Linked DNA regions of Homo sapiens: region 2 is linked to region 1. Evidence: promoter capture Hi-C in 16 types of primary human blood cells and fetal thymus (Javierre and others, 2016). All regions are on one chromosome and are shown on one strand. The core of a region is centred on a gene start or on the middle of the fragment in contact, and the rest is flanking DNA. Distances in the headings are between cores, read along the strand shown. Region 1 holds the start of GOLGA7B (golgin A7 family member B). Region 2 holds the start of SLF2 (SMC5/6 complex localization factor 2).

Region 1 (3,399 bases), core at 233-2,732:
TCATTCACAGGCCTCTGCTCTCCCCCAGTGTATGCCAGCTGGATTGGAAATGGGGAGACACCACAAAGGAAGTCAACATCAGAACTGGGGAGACCCTGATGTCCTGAGTTTCGCTCCAAAAATTCAAAGGCAAAAACTTTCCGCTCTGCTGCTGACATGCTGTGTGGAGTAGCAAATTAGTCCTTTCGTTTTCCACACATCACCTTTATCATGTATAAAGTGGGAACATAAAGAGCCCAATCTCCCTCCTGAAATGAGGGGGGAAAGGGCAATCCCTAGGGGTAGAGGGGGGAATCCTCGACCTCAAGCATTATACCAAGATTCTGCCCTTAGCTAACAGGCCCCGTGGTTCAGCCTTCAAGTGCTTGAAGGTGACACACCTATCAGTGCACCTTGAAGAAGGCAGAAACTCCCATCAGATGGAGGGGAAATCTGGACACCCTGGGACAAAAAAAAAAAAAAAACTCGAATGGGGTAAAAAAGCAAGAAGGGTGATATGCAAAAGTGGAGACCAACCATTTGGGTTCTCAGCCTGAGGATGTCTTTGTCCCCTCCCTCCCGCAAAGGAAATGCGGATGTAGAGGTAAGTCTGTCATCCCTTAGCCAAGCTTTTGGGTTCAGAAGCTGACTGCATAGCAACAGCGGACAGCCGCCTTCCCTCCCCTCACACACGCACACACACGCGTCTCCAACCCTCTAGGAAAGCGGTTTCAGGACTTGTGAAGTCCAGGGAAGGGGAAACCCCAGCCTGGGGCCCTGAAGCAACCCTGGCGCTAATGCCAACAAGTGTCGCGGACAGCTTGGGGGCTCAGGTGGGGCGAGGGGAAGATTGACACGCAAGGGGGAGATGAGCCCTCACTAAGCCCCTACCTCCTCCCTCCAGACCTGACCTGGGGAATCACCCCATCCCACCCCCAACTCCCGCCTCCCACTCCTGCCCAGCCCACCCCTAGGGCATTTGGTCCCGCGGCAATCGGGCACTGCCTGCGGGTGGGGCGCTCGCCCCTACCTCGGTGGCCATGATCCGGGGGCGCTCGGAGGCTGTCGCGGGGCCGGGCGAGGGGGGTCTCCGCGGTGCTGACCCCGGGAGCAGGTGGGCGGCGGCGGTGGCGGCGAGCTGGGGCCCGGGGCGCTGTCCGCAGTGCTGATGCGGGCGCCGCGGGCCCGGGCTCAGGTGGGCCGGGGGCGGGCGGGCGGCTGGGTCCAGGCAAGGGGCGCGGCGCTGTCCGCTGTGCTGAGGCAGGCGCCGGGCCCGGGAGGCGAGGCCGCGCCCGAGGCTCCTCACGGCCCGATCGCCCGCTGCCGCGGCTCCTGCAGGCAACGGCCGGGTTTAGCTTTGGCGGCGGCGGCGGCGGGGATGGGGGCGGCCGGGGGAGGAGGGGCCAGGAGCCGCCGCTGGCCGGGAGGGGGAAGCCGCGGCCCCCAGACTCCGGCGCCGCCGGAGAGGAGCCCCGCCCGGGCCACAGGCTCGGCTACCGCCCCGCGCGAGGCCCCGCCTCCCCTTCCTGCCCTCCCCCTCGTGAGAGCCCCGGAGCTCTGCGCTCGCTTCCGTGGCCCCCGGGACATCCAGCCTGAAGGACAGTGGGGCAGGAATTTTTCCGGGGCAAGACGCTTCAGCCTGCAAGGCTGACCGCTCCCGAGCCGCTCGCAGGCCCGCAGGTGAGGCCTCTCTACCTTTCCAGCCACCCCCAGTGCCCCGGCTCTACCCCTCCCTCGCCCCGCCCCCAGCTTCCTCTTTAGAATAATTTCTTTTCTTTCTCTCCCTTTTCCTCTCTGTGTGCCCCCCCCCCATATACACACAGTCAGGCTTGCACGGACGGCCCCTCTTTTCCCCTCTCCTTTGCACTTCCTGGAACCCCACTAGCTAGACAAAGATCCTGCCGACCGCAGAGAATCATTTCCTTTCTTTAAATACGTGCCCACATTTCGTTCTCAGCCATAGCCTGGGGTCCCTTCTTTCAGGCAGCTCCAGAATTGAAGCCAGTCTCTCCTTGCTGCTCTTCCTGGACCTGGTCCCCACCCTTTACTCTTCCCTCTCTCCTCTGCAACCCGAGTTTACATACACGCACCACCACTACCACCACCACTCAAAAACCACAAGCAGATGGTGCCAAACCGGTATGCTCACTCTCCAAGGATGGCAGGTCTGGCTCTGGTGCCACCTTCGCACTTTTGACATCATAAATTCCAACTAAATGATCTATTTGTTTAATAAAAAGGAGACCAGGTGCAGTGGCTCACACCTGTAATCCCAACACTTTGGGAGGCTGAGGTGGGAGGATTGCTTGAGCCCAGGAGTTCAAGACCAGCCTGGGCAAGACCCTGTCTGCACAAAAAATGAAAACATTAGCCGGGCGTTGTGATGTGTGCCTGTGGTCCCAGCTACTCAGAAGGCTAAGGCAGGAGAATCACTTGAATCCAAGAGTTCAAGGCTGCAGCTAGCCATGATTGTGCCACTGTACTCCAGCCTGGGCAATAGAGCAAGAGCCTGTCTCTTAAAAAAATAAAAATAAGGCCGGAAGCAGTGGCTCATACCTGTAATCCCAGCACTTTGGGAGGCCGAGACGGGTGGATCACCTGAGGGCAGAAGTTCAAGACCAGCCTGGCCAACATGCTGAAACCCCATCTCCACCAAAAATACAAAAAAAAATTAGCCAGGCATGGTGGCACCCGCCTGTAGTCCCAGGTACTCAGGAGGCTGAAGCAGGAGAATTGCTTGAACCCGGGAGGCAAAGGTTACAGTGAACTGAGATCACACCATTGCACTCCAGCCTGGGCGACAAGAGCGAAACTCTGTCTCAAAAAATAAATAAATAAATAAATAAATAAAATAGACATAAAAAAAAGGAAACACCAACACAAGTGCCTTTTTACATACCCATAATACCCCTTGGTCTCTTTGAGGGGTGGTGGGGTGTGCTCCTCTGCAGCTCACTGCTGCCTGAGAGTCTGAAGCCCACACACAGGGAGAACCTGGCGGCCAAGAGACCTGGCCCAGGCTTTTCCAGCTGTATAACCTCGAGCAACTGTCTTGTTTTCTGAGCTTATGGTTCTCTTTCTGTAAAATGTGAGTGTTGGATTTCACTAGACTGTTTCTAGGACCTTTTGTTTTTTCTCCAACCTTTTATTTTGACATTTTTAAACATACCAAAATGTTGAAAGAATAGTACAATAAACTATGCCATCTACCTAGCTCCAACAATTGCTTTTTGCCACATTTGCTTTATTGATAGATATGAAAACAGAGCTATATTTGCCTAGATTATCAGAAGGTGACAGATATCGTGGCCGGGCGCGGTGGCTCACGCCTGTAATCCCAGTACTTTGGGAGGCCGAGGTGGGCGGATCATGAGGTCAGGAGATTGAGACCATCCTGGCTAATACGGTGAAACCCCGTCT
Region 2 (3,133 bases), core at 507-3,006, 3.1 Mb before region 1:
GGGCTATGGAAGAATATATGCATTTGTTTACATAAATTATACTAGGCAAATTAACTCCACCAGAGTAAATGTTGGAGGTTCTGCAAAGGGAAGAAGGATGATACCTTGTTATTGATCTTGTTATTGATTGAGGAGAGATGGGAAGGGACCCAGAAGCAGCTCATTTGTTGCACACAAGATAATTCTAAATGCATTTTACTAAATGTAACACTGTATCTCTTCCCTAAAATATTGGACCTCAGACTCCTTTTTGATTAATACACCAGAAAGAGAAAAAATGATTTTGGGTAAAACATACAAGAAACCTGTAAAATAACCATGAATGTAACTTTCAAGAGGTAGGTTCTCTAAGTTCATATGCACACAAAATGTCCACTGCTTATTTAACAACTGGCTTAAAAAAAAACACACACACACACACAATTATAACAGTTTCACAAACCCTTATCTGAACCTTCTGGGGCCAAATGTGTTTTAGAATTCTGAATTTATCAGATTTTAGGAAGGGGATAACTTGGATGTATTATGGAAAGTCCCCAGTGGGGTCTGGTGCTGCAACCTGTAATCAAATCCACTGACATTTCTCCAGCAAAACATGAATATTCACACTTAATGGGATAAAGACCACAAACAGCCTTACATTAGTTTTAGTCAGATCTGGCTGCCCAGTAAGATGTGGTGCCAAACTTACTGAAAACGTTTTGGTTTTCATAGCTTTCTGGCTTTCAGAGTTAAGATAAGGGATTGTGGGCCTGTACCACAGTATTAGTAACATGAATATTGTTAAAACTTAATACAATTTAACTTAAAATAAAAGACAGTACCAAGTTCGTAGGGAATTTAAACATGTTTTATTGTCAGAGGATGTCATTAGATGAAACTCCCCATCTCATTACATAGCTCCCACAAAATCTTTACAAAAAAATTAGCCTCTTGGAGAGGCGTGAAGTTACTGAAAGAGAAAACACGTCACATTCCAAATCTGCAAGTTCTTTTAAGTATGAACTAGCGTGCACGCTGGACTACAAAGTAATTCGTGGAAGGGATTCCCTCATCACAGGTTACATAATTTCACCCACAACATAGAAAAGGTTTATATTACTAAACCACTAGGATCAGTAGAACTGACAACGTACAGAAAACGATCTAAATATGCATTAAGCAGTTAGGGTCCCGGGTCAAACTCTTGCAAAGGAAAAAAATCACTTTCTTTCTACCTAAGGCGGGTTCTCCGTAGCTGTCCAGGCTGGTGGTCACTAGACCAAGAGCAGCTGCCCAACTACAGAGAAGCAAACTCCAACTCCCAGTAGCCCCTGCGCGGAGGCGGGGCGGGGATTTGCCAGGCCCCGAAATGCCAACGCCTGAGCTCGCGGAGGATGGCGGGAACTGGAAGAGCGGCGGTCTGCAGCCCTCCCCTCATACCCTTGCCCCCGCGACCCGGCCCCTTCTCAAGCCCTCTGCACGGTACCTGTCCCCAGGACTCTCTGTTCTCTTTCCCGCTGCAGCATGGGCGGTACTACCGGGTCTCAGATGGCAGCGCGGGGGCGACGACCCCGGGGCTGGGGATGAGGGGAAACCTGGCCTAGCGGGCATGCAGCGCCTTGTCATGTCGGCGCCGCTGGCGACGGCGGCATGAGCCGTGGCTGGAGAAGTTGGGTGCGTGGTTGCCGTCTTGCTGCTGGGACTCCGGGAGGCTGTCGGAGCAGAGGTGGGCGGCACCCCCTTCTCTCTTCATGGCGGTTCTCTCTTCGGAAGTGACTCCGGCGTGAGCGGGAAGGAACCTGGGGACCAGTAAGGGGCGGGTCTTACTTCATGAATCACGTCTTGATTGGCTGGCACGGTGGTCATTTCGGTGGTGGCGCAATAGGAAGCCGCAGCCTCTCTGGAGAAGGCGGGGCTTGGGGACGGGGGAGGAAGAAACCTCCCCCTCCCACCCCGTCACATGCACTGAGGGCGCGCGCCTCTGGTCCCGGCCGCCTCGGCCTTGGCCGGCGCGCGGGGGCGGAAAGGCGCGGGCAGCAGCTGGCGGACAGCTGACGACACCCGCCTGGTTGAAGGCGAGGGGTGAGGGTTTGCTGAAGCAAACCGGAGCCCGGCAGCTGCCTTCGTTGAGGATGGCCAACACTTGGGCTTCCTGTGTCACACAATTGTGCCTCAGAAATCCGCAGCTGTTCATTACATCGTCTCTTTAACAGCTTAGGCCAAAGTGCCATAATACTGTCACAATTTGCTGAGGGATCTGCACAGCGCGATCCGAAGACTTGTCCATTCTACGACGGTTCTTGTTGAGTGTCAGCGGTAGATTATTTTTTTGTCTTTAAGAAGAAGAAAAAACCCCCAAAAAACTCCATTGGAATAAAGACAGTTGTTAATCCACAAAAGCATTTTGTTTCTCATGAGTTACCATGAAGTCTCTGCAGCCGACTTCCTTGGAGATTTTTTAAAGGAACACAAGGTCAGCTTTCAGTTTTCCATGTTAAGCGTGGGCAGCATAGATAAGTAAAAGCTGCCTGCAATCTCCAACCCTCCTTTGTAAAGGGCTTGTGCTCTGGAGGCTGTTAGCCATGGTTTTCCTTATAAACCGAGAGACTGGTCAGTATCTCTGAACCTCAGCCTCCACATCTGTAAAACGGGCATTTTACTCACTTTTCTGGGTAATTGTAAACCATAAAAGGATAAAACAGTGTACACTGCACAGTTCAGATTCTCTCATGTAACAGGTACAGAGCAAATTATAGTTCCCTTTCTTCCCCAGATAGATTCCTACAGCGAATTTTACTTCTTTACAAAATCTTCCAGAGACAGGTCAAATACTGTTGCAATAACTGTTAACAACCAAAATATCAATTTCAAGATGTCCAAGCTTTAATTGACAGAGTTATTTAATCAGTTGGATGGAAAAAAATCTTAAATGATATAAAATAATTTGGACGGGTCTTTCAAGTTTATTGTATAGAAATTGAACTATTGGCCTGATACAGTTGCTCACATCTATAATCCCAGCAGTTTGGGAGGCCAAGGCAGGTGGATAGCTTGAGCCCGGGAGTTGGAGACTAGCCTGGGCAACATAGCAAGACCCTGTCTCAAAAATAAATTAATTAATTAAAATTTAGAAAAAACGAAATTGAACTGT

What was found. The method cuts DNA at HindIII sites, captures the fragments that hold promoters and counts their contacts. A CHiCAGO score of 5 or more calls a contact.
Region 2: the fragment with the promoter of SLF2 here is called in contact with the fragment with the promoter of GOLGA7B in region 1 in 1 of 17 cell types (M0 macrophages); the score reaches 5.2 in M0 macrophages.

What each region holds. Positions count from the first base shown.
Region 1 is chr10:97,847,926-97,851,324 of GRCh38, reverse strand. GOLGA7B (golgin A7 family member B) reads right to left here and starts at 1,482. Exons shown (of 5, transcript NM_001010917.3): 1 at 1,010-1,482. The coding sequence starts at 1,021. GOLGA7B-DT (GOLGA7B divergent transcript) reads left to right here and starts at 1,527. Exons shown (of 3, transcript NR_108035.1): 1 at 1,527-1,659. The HindIII fragment of the contact is 7,033 bases long and covers 611-3,399 here.
Region 2 is chr10:100,911,586-100,914,718 of GRCh38, reverse strand. It overlaps SLF2 (SMC5/6 complex localization factor 2), which reads right to left and starts at 1,756. Exons shown (of 20, transcript NM_018121.4): 1 at 1,469-1,756. The coding sequence starts at 1,608. RefSeq lists enhancers at 1,607-1,656, 1,677-1,746 and a silencer at 1,967-2,236. The HindIII fragment of the contact is 2,989 bases long and covers 1-2,865 here.